Regions from separate parts of the Homo sapiens genome. Here regions 2 and 3 are each linked to region 1. Evidence: promoter capture Hi-C in 16 types of primary human blood cells and fetal thymus (Javierre and others, 2016). All regions are on one chromosome and are shown on one strand. Each heading gives the region's core, a stretch centred on a gene start or on the middle of the fragment in contact. The rest is flanking DNA. Distances are from core to core; before and after follow the strand shown.

Region 1 (2,700 bases), core at 112-2,611:
TTCTTAAGCAGAAGTAAAGCCAATTTGTTACAAAAGATATTTTGGTGTGTCCAAGCAAAAGCAATCGCCTCAACAATTCTGCATAGCACAAGTTCAGTGAAGCCATCATTCCTCAAGAAAGAGACCACAAGGCTTCAAACCGACTTCCCTACATGACAGAAACACAATCGAAGTCTCCCAATTAGCATTTAAACAGCAATAAAAGTTGTTCTCAAAAAGGAACAACATAGTTTCAACGTCGGGGCCAGCAACTGCCAGCAAGTAAAACTGGTAATGTGTCAGAATCTTCATCTAGATCGATCAGAATCCCACCACAGAAAAATCCAGACTCTGGCAATTAAGAAATGAGGCTTTTATTTTCCTAACAGAAATCGGGAGATTTAACAGACAAAGCAATTGGTTATTCTGAATCTTAACAAACCGAAGGTTTCAAACGAACTCAGCGCTGAAGTTACTCTGCAGCGACCATCAAGATCTCACAATCGTTTTCTCTTCGCTTACAAATTCGTTCCCACCCTCCACCGTTCCCTTTGCACACACAATTCTCGCCAAGAGAAGCCTTCCACAGTCACAGCATGGATTGCTGTCTCAAGCAAGGAGATCCGCAGTTCCCATTTCTCTAAGGGAACACTCAACAAGCTAGGGGATAGGAAAGGCCTTTTGTGTTTTATTTAACGTAAACCAATTCCAAAATTATCCCTTTGCAGCTGCAGGTTCAGAGATGCTAGCCCCCAGCCGCAGCCCCAATTTTGATGGGCACCCGACCCCCGACTCCTCTCTCGCAAAGGAGTGAAATGTTCGGAGGAGCGATGAAAGATTACCTGACACCCTAAAGCCATCCTTGCCCGGGCCACACACCCCTTCACTGCCCGGGTGAGGGGACGAGAACCACCCTGCTGAGGAGAGGGGGTGGGTTCGCTCCCAACCCAAGGGCTGGCTGGAAAGGAGCTGTCCTCCTCCTCGCCTCACTCGAGGACGGCGATAGCAAGTCACCCTGCCCAACCAGGACCGACCCCCGCGTGGGATACGGGGCCTGCGTCAGACCCCGGGCGCCCGCTGCCCCTTGCCAGTCCCGGGCATAAAGGGCAGAAGGCGCCGGCTCCCCTCTGCGGCCCGGGGAGGAGGAGAGGCCTCACCTGGCCCAGCCCGCTCCACGCTCTCGGGTTCGCTCCGCTGGCGACGGTAATGAGGGAGCCAGGGACAGGGCCAGAGCAGAGGCGCTCTGCCTCAGGCCGCGACAGCCGTGCTCGGGGCTCCTCACAGCTGGCGGGACCCCGAGCCGCCCGGAGCCGCCATCTTCCTCCACTCAAACGCCGCCGCCGCCGCAGCTGCTGCTGCTCAGGCCGGGAGAAGACAGCGCAGAGCGCGCATGCGCCGGGGCGGGCGCGGCGGACGCGCGCGCACTCACGTCAGCGCGGCGGGATGGCGAGGGGCGGCCAGGGGGCGGCGCAGTGTTGAGAAAGGCCGTGGTCACAGGCCGAGGTTCTGTGGAGGGTGGAATGCGCTCGGGGGAGCTAGGCCTCCGCACCCGCCTTCGCCGCGTCTCTAGCGTCGACCTGATAGCCGCACCCACCCTCCGCTGCACTGTCTGGGGCAACTGGGTGGTTTTCCCGGTGGTTTGAGACTAACATTTAGCCAGGAATTAACTCACTTCTACCCCGAGGGCCCGATGAGCAGAGAGGGCTGTGGCGGATGTGAGTGCTCTTGGATATCGCCAAGGGGAGGGAAACTGTGCTTGAGGTGTGCAGGAGAAGTCTTCCCTTAACCGTAGCCTCGTAGCAACCACTGTGAGTTCTTACTAGCTCCACTTTTCAGATGAGGAAACTGAGGCACAGAAAACGATCACTTATTTGCCCGGAGTCACACACCTATCAGTGGAGGTGGGGCGGCGCGGGAAAGAGGATTTAAACTCAGGCTTGTCTGGTTCCCAAGCTCCTTTACTTCCTACTAGCTAGGTTATAGGATCCAGCAAAGTCCCCCTTCTCAAGGGAGCAACCTGGTGTGTAGGTGAGAACCTTCATGAGCCCAGCCCTACAGCATGTGGTCTAAGGAAATGCCAGATACAGAGTCAAAGGCTTCAGTCTAAACTCTGTAAGCCAAAAAAACAAAACAAAACAAAACAAAAAACTAAGCCCCCACCCCCCCCCCAACACCAAACCATCTGAACGGACTTCCTCCTAGGCCAGGGCAGTCTAAAATGTAACCAACCTGAGAGACTGGTTCAGGCCATGACGGGAAGCAGGACATGAGACATGCCTCATTACATCCTTCAGCATTGACATCAACACAACAGACCTTAAGACTGGTAAGAAACATTTACAATCTGTTCTCTCTGGAGCCCACCTGCCACTTGGAGGCTTCACGTGCGTGATAAAACTTTGGTGTCCACAATCCCTTATCATAACCCAGACATTCATTTCTATTGATAATAACTTTTTTTTTTTTGAGACAGGGTCTAACTCTGTTGCCCAGGCTGGAGTCCAGTGATGAGTTCTTGGTTCGCTGCAACCTCTGTCTTTCAGGCTCAAGCTATCCTCCTACCTTAGCCTCCTGAGTAACTGGGACTACAGGCGGGCACCACCATGCCTGGCTAATTTTTCCATTTTTTTTGTAGACACAGGGTTTCGCCATGTTGTCCACTCTCATCTCAAACTCCTGAGCTCAAGTAATCCACTTGCCTCGGCCTCCCAAAATGCTTGG
Region 2 (3,063 bases), core at 302-2,801, 310 kb before region 1:
GAGGCAGTGGGTTTGGGAGGGACCTGCATTGGGTCCTGCGCCCCCTGGCTGCCCTCTTCTCAGCCTCCTGGGGCACACAGGGCTGGGGGGTGAGGGTGGATGTGGACATGCAGTGCCGGCTGTGGGACAGTAGCCAGCAGCTGCCCCAGACCAGACACTGGGGATCCGGATGTTGACAGGGCAGCCAGTTCTGGTGCTGTGCAGAGTCAACAGGTCAGGGTGGCCAAGATGAAGGTGGGCTCGGGTTCATGCAGAGCGGCAACCCCCATCCCACCTCCCACAACACACACCTTCAATTTTGATTTGACTTGCCTGGCATCTAGGGGCAAAGGGTGGCCCAGGGTCCCAGATTTTAACAATCATCCAAGGGCCATCATGTTATTCAGAGAGTGGCTTTGTCTGGGTAGGACTGGAGGCAATTGCCCCCAACATCTTGCCCCAAAGTGGCATCAGACACAACTCTTCTGTTCTGTGCCCAAACCATTGCCCTGGTTCAGCCTCAGGAGCTGGAGGAGCTTTGGGCAGGGGAAGAGCTGCACAGTGTGGGGCTGGGTTCAGCCTCTGCTGTGTGACCTTGGATGAGTGACTCACCTCTCTGACCATCTACAAAATGGCGAGGCTCTCCCCATTCACAGGGTGTGGGGAGGAGGACTTGAGCTGCGGATGTGACGCTTCTGACACGTTGCAGGCACACGGCACGTGCTTGTTCCTCGCCATGTCCCCTCACACCTGTGCTGCCATCCTCTGTTGGGGTGGGACAAACTCTGTGGAATTACCCAGAAGTCCCCACCAGAGCCGCTGGCCCTTGGACGTGTGCTTTGAGAGGCATTTCCTGAGCCTGGAGGGTCTGGACACAGGATCAAGTCTGAGTTCCTGACCCCAATTCACTGCCTTGCCCCAGGTGTCGGCCTCCTCGCCAGCCCTGGACAAGATGGGTCATCAGGATGGGACCGTGTGGCACAGCCTGCGGGCTTTGGAGCCAGGCAAACCTGGGCTGGGAATCCTGGCGCTGCCTCGGCCTCCGTGATCTTAGACGGGCAGCCCCACCTCCCTGAGACACCATTTCTCTACAACGGGATCACGCTGCCTGCCTCGTGGGATTTCCGTGGGCACTCAGGGTAATTAATCTAGGGGAAGGCTGACTCTCTACCTGGCACACAGGGAGGCTGTGGTCATGCTGGCCCCACTCACCTTTGCCGGCCTGCTTTCTCCTTCTCTGCCCAGCCTCCTCCCCTCTCCCTCTGTGCTTTTCCAAACCTTCCATGTCCAGCTCTGAGACCCCTGGACCCTGAGCCTCAGCCTTGGCAGATGACCCCTCTCTGTCCTGCTGTGTGCGTGAGCTCCCCCTTCCCAGCCCCCGTCCAGCAGCACCCAGGAGCCTGAGTACAGCTGGGCACCACCCTCTGTGCAGCTATGGTGGGTGGGGAGGCTCCTGTTCCCCTCCCTGTTGGCAGCTCTGCTCTGCTCTGCTCCGGCCTGGGCAGTTCTGATCGGTTTTCAAGGACATTCTAAGTGTTCGCCATAAACCCTGGGCCCAGGCGGGAAAGGGGGGAGGATGTTGATTGTTGGAACACACACCTGTCCAGGTGCAGGGGAGCTGGAGGCTCTGTGAGAGGAGGGCCAGCTCAGCCACAGCAGGAGGACTGACAGGTGAGGGGTCGCTGCAAGATGCTGGGGCCTGCCAGGGCCAGACAGGCAGGGCGGGGGGGGGGGGGTGGTAAGGGCAGGAGCCAGCACCTCACTTTGGCCCTGGTGGGATCTTCTTCTGGGCCTGGGGTTTTGCTGCCTCTGTGGCCTGAGCTGGGGTCAGGGGTGCTCATAGGTGGACAGGGAGAGTCAGAGCCATCCATGGGACTCTGCAGTGAGAGTGTCACAGCCCTGGGCAGAGACTGCTCCCAGCAGTGGAAGCGCCAAGTGACCCAGGAGGGTGGGAGCGGCTGCCACCGAAGGGGAAGGGGCTCTGAGCAGGGCTTGGGCTCCGGCCTGTGCCCAGTCTGCTGCTGGACACAGGGGGACACCTAGGAATCCCACCCCCATCCCACACAATGACACACACAGGCACACACCCTCAGTGACGGAAACTCAGGGATGAAGGCACACACAGACCTAGTGTGATAACTTCACATACACACACACACACACACACACGCACAATCTTTCCTCTTCATGGGTGGGGAGAGCACTGGAAGGGCCTAGAGGCAGTGCGAGGACGTGCAGCAGCTCACCGCGGTCCCTCCCTCTATCCGCTTCTCCAGGGGCCTGATGGAGGAGTTTGTGGGGCTGCGTGAAGGCTCCTCAGGGAACCCTGTGACTCTGCAGGAGCTGTGGGGCCCCTGTCCCCGCATCCGCCGAGGCATCCGAGGTGAGAGCCAGGTCCTCTTCCCTTCCCCCTGGAGGACCACTCAGGACATCATTCCTGCCCAGCTCCCACCCCACCTCCCTGCCCAGGAACCACCCTCCTCCTGGCATTTGTCCAGGACATGACTGCCCAAAGTCTCCTGGGTGGCAGGGAGGGAAGGGGTCTGTCTGTCCAGCTGTCTGTGGGTCAGATGGGCCGGGCATCTGCCCTCTGCCTTTCGGGAGATACAGCCCAAGGCCTGGTCACTGTGCCCATCTTCCACCCAGGCCTCTCCCTCACCTACCTGTGCCAATGAGGGGACGTGGGGGTTAGCTGCTGGGACAGCTGGGGCCACAGCAAGGGGCTGGGGCAGCCTACACTTGGCACCTTTCCTTGGAGCCCCATGTGCTTTGTTCACTTTGAGACCTGACTGTCCCCTCAGCTACGGGGCAGAGCAAGTAGGGACCACAGAAGGAGGCTGACTGCAACCCCAGGGGCTGGTGCCCACAGCCAGTGAGGGCCAGCTCCCAGGCTGGGCTAGCAGCCAGTGGGCCAGGAGCATTGCTGGGGACCCAGAGGATACCTGGCGCCACAGGTCCTGGGACACGCAGGAGTCTGCTAGATCCTGGTGCTCTCTAAGCTATGGACTCTGCGGGGATGCAGGTGAAAGCTGTAGCTGCCAGCCCCCTCCATACTCCCTGTCCCCCAGGAACCTCCCAGTACAG
Region 3 (2,763 bases), core at 70-2,569, 510 kb before region 1:
GCTCACTGCAACCTCTGCCTGCCGGGTTCAAGTGATTCTCCTGCCTTAGCCTCCCAAGTAGCTGTGATCACAGGTGGCCACCACCATGCCCGGCTAATTTTTTTTTTTGTTTGAGATGGAGTCTTACTCTGTTGCCCAGGCTGGAGTGCAGTGGCGCGATCTCGGCTCATGGCAACCTCCACCTCCCAGGTTCAAGCAATTCTCCTGCCTCACCCTCCTGAGTAGCTGAGACTACAGGAACTCGCCACCAAGCCCGGCTAATTTTTTGTATTTTTAGTAGAGACGGGGTTTCACCGTGTTAGCCAGGATGGTCTCTGTCTCCTGACCTCATGATCCGCTCGTCTCGGCCTCCCAAAGTGCTGGGATTACAGGTGTGAGCCACCGTGCCAGGCACTTGTATTCTTTTTTTTTTTCGAGATGGAGTCTTGCTCTGTCACCCAGGCTGGAGTGCAGTGGCATGATCTCAGCTCACTGCAACCTCTGCCTCCCGGGTTCAAGCGATTCTCCTGCCTAAGCCTCCCAAGTAGCTGGGATTAGAGGTACACGCCACCCTGCCCAGATAATTTTTTTTTTTTTTTAGAGACAGAGTCTTGCTCTGTTGCCCAGGCTGCAGTGCAGTGGTGTGATCTTGGCTCACTGCCACCTCTGCCTCCTGGGTTCAAGCAGTTCTCCTGCCTCAGCCGCCCGAGTAGCTGGGATTACAGGTGTGAATCACTGTGCCCGGCCTTAATTTTTGTATTCTTATTAGAGACGGGGTTTCCCCATATTGGCCAGGCTGGTCTCAAACTCTTGACCTTGTGTTCTATCCACCTTGGCCTCCCAAAGTGTTGGGATTACAGGCGTGAGCCACCGCGCCCGGCCCTAATTTTTGTATTTTTAGTAGAGACGGGGTTTCACCATGTTGGCCAGGCTGGTCTCGAACTCCTGACCTCAGGTGATCCACTGGCCTCAGCCTCCCAAAGTACTGTGATTACAGGCATGCGCCATTGCTCCCAGCCAGGAATAAAATTTTTTTAAAAAATTCAAATTCTACCACATAGGCATTAACCATGATTAACATTTGCAAATATCTTTCCAGTCTATTTTCCACTCAATTACACAAATATTGGTAAACTGCATTAGTAATTCTTAGTATTAAGTATATTGCCAGTATTTCCTCACAGGGGGAAAAATGTTACTTTTAGCAACTTTCCAGAAATAAACAATGGTAGAAACTTAAGAACTGATTTAAAAATATATCAGCCAGTATATTCATTTCTGAAAAACTAAAAATAACACGGAATAAATTATTTAGCTTTCTTAGAGGGTTGAACAGTAAAGTACCATATGAAGTGTTTTTTTTTTTTATCGGAGTCCACTCTGTTGCCCAGGCTCACTGCAACTTCTTCCTCCCAGGTTCAAGTGATTCTCCTGCCTAAGACTCCTGAGTAGCTGGGATTACAGGTGCATGCCACCATGCCCAGCTAATTTTTGTATTTTTAGTAGAGACGGGGTTTCACTATATTGGCCAGGCTAGTCTGGAACTCCTGACCTCAGGTGATCCACCTGTCTGGGCCTCCCAGAGTGCTGGGGTTACAGGCGTGAGCCAACCGTGCCTGGCTCTGTTATAAAGTATTAGCTTGCTTAAAGAATGGATCTGCGCTGGGTGCAGTGGCTCACACCTATAACCCCAGCACTTTGGGAGGCCAAGGCTGGCAGATCCCTTGAGTTCGGGAGTTCAAGACCAGCCTGGGCAATATGGAGACGCCTCTACAAAAAAATACCAAAAACAATTAACTGGGCCTGGTGGTGTGCGCCTGTAGACTCTGCTACTAGGTGGGAGGATGGCTTGAGCCTGGGAGGCAGAGGTTGCAGTGAGCTAAGATTGCACCACTATACTCCAGCCTGGGCGACAGAGGGAGACCCTGTCTCAAAAAAAAAAAAAAAAAAAAAAAAAAGAACTAGAGGACTAGCTAGCTAATATTTTCAATTCTTTGGAGTTCTGATAATTTATTTATTTATTTATTTATTTAGAGATGGAGTTTCGCTCGTTGCCCAGGCTGGAGTGCAATGGCGCGATCTTGGCTCACTGCCGAGATCAAACACCCTTTAATAATATTACAGTGGTGTTGCGTTTTATTTTCTGTTATTTTGGGGAAAAAATTTGGTTCTAATAGTACGAGTTTGTTGGTATTGTCAAATTCTCATGTGGTTGGGGCTTTGTTCATTTTATAGCTAGTTAATATTATATTATTTTATTTTATTTTATTTACTTATTTTTTGAGATGCAGTCTCACTGTCGTCCAGGCTGGAATGCACTGGCACGATCTTGGCTCACTGCAACCTCTGCCTCCTGGGTTCAAGCAATTGTCTGTCTCAGTCTCCCGAGTAGCTGGGATTCTAAGCGCCCGCCACCACACCTGGCTAATTTTTTTGTATGTTTAGTAGAGATGGGGTTTCACCATCTTGACCAAGCTGGTCTTGAACTCCTGACCTTGTGATCCACCCGCCTCGGCCTCCCAAAGTGCTAGGATTACAGACATGAGTCACTGTGCCTGGCCAGTTATATGATTTTATATGATGCCTTTTATATATTTTATATGATGCCTTTAAGAAGAAATACGCAGGTGGATCTCCTGTGGTCAGGAGTTCCAGACCAGCCTGGCCAACATGGTGAAATCCTGTGTCTACTAAAAATACAAAAATTAGCTGGGTGTGGTGGTGTGCACCTTAGTCCTAGCTACTAGGGAGTCTGAGGTGGGAGGATCGTGTGGACCTGGGAGG

Evidence for each region. Contacts are between HindIII fragments. The CHiCAGO score rates a contact against its expected background, and 5 or more counts as called.
Region 2: a contact is called between the fragment with the promoter of CLCNKB here and the fragment with the promoter of FBXO42 in region 1, in 2 of 17 cell types (endothelial precursors and total CD4 T cells). The highest score is 9.3, in endothelial precursors.
Region 3: a fragment that was not itself captured here is called in contact with the fragment with the promoter of FBXO42 in region 1 in 1 of 17 cell types (non-activated CD4 T cells); the score reaches 5.2 in non-activated CD4 T cells.

The regions. Positions count from the first base shown.
Region 1 is chr1:16,351,119-16,353,818 of GRCh38, forward strand. It overlaps FBXO42 (F-box protein 42), which reads right to left and starts at 1,362. Exons shown (of 10, transcript NM_018994.3): 1 at 1,137-1,362. RefSeq lists an enhancer at 627-1,401. The HindIII fragment of the contact is 4,914 bases long and covers 1-2,700 here.
Region 2 is chr1:16,042,231-16,045,293 of GRCh38, forward strand. It overlaps CLCNKB (chloride voltage-gated channel Kb), which reads left to right and starts at 1,552. Exons shown (of 20, transcript NM_000085.5): 1 at 1,552-1,650; 2 at 2,256-2,362. The coding sequence starts at 2,263. The HindIII fragment of the contact is 13,884 bases long and covers 1-3,063 here.
Region 3 is chr1:15,840,246-15,843,008 of GRCh38, forward strand. The region is part of intron 1 of SPEN-AS1 (SPEN antisense RNA 1); the gene reads right to left. Among named protein-coding and RNA genes, the nearest start is that of SPEN, 6.1 kb to the right of the region's middle. The HindIII fragment of the contact is 5,451 bases long and covers 1-2,763 here.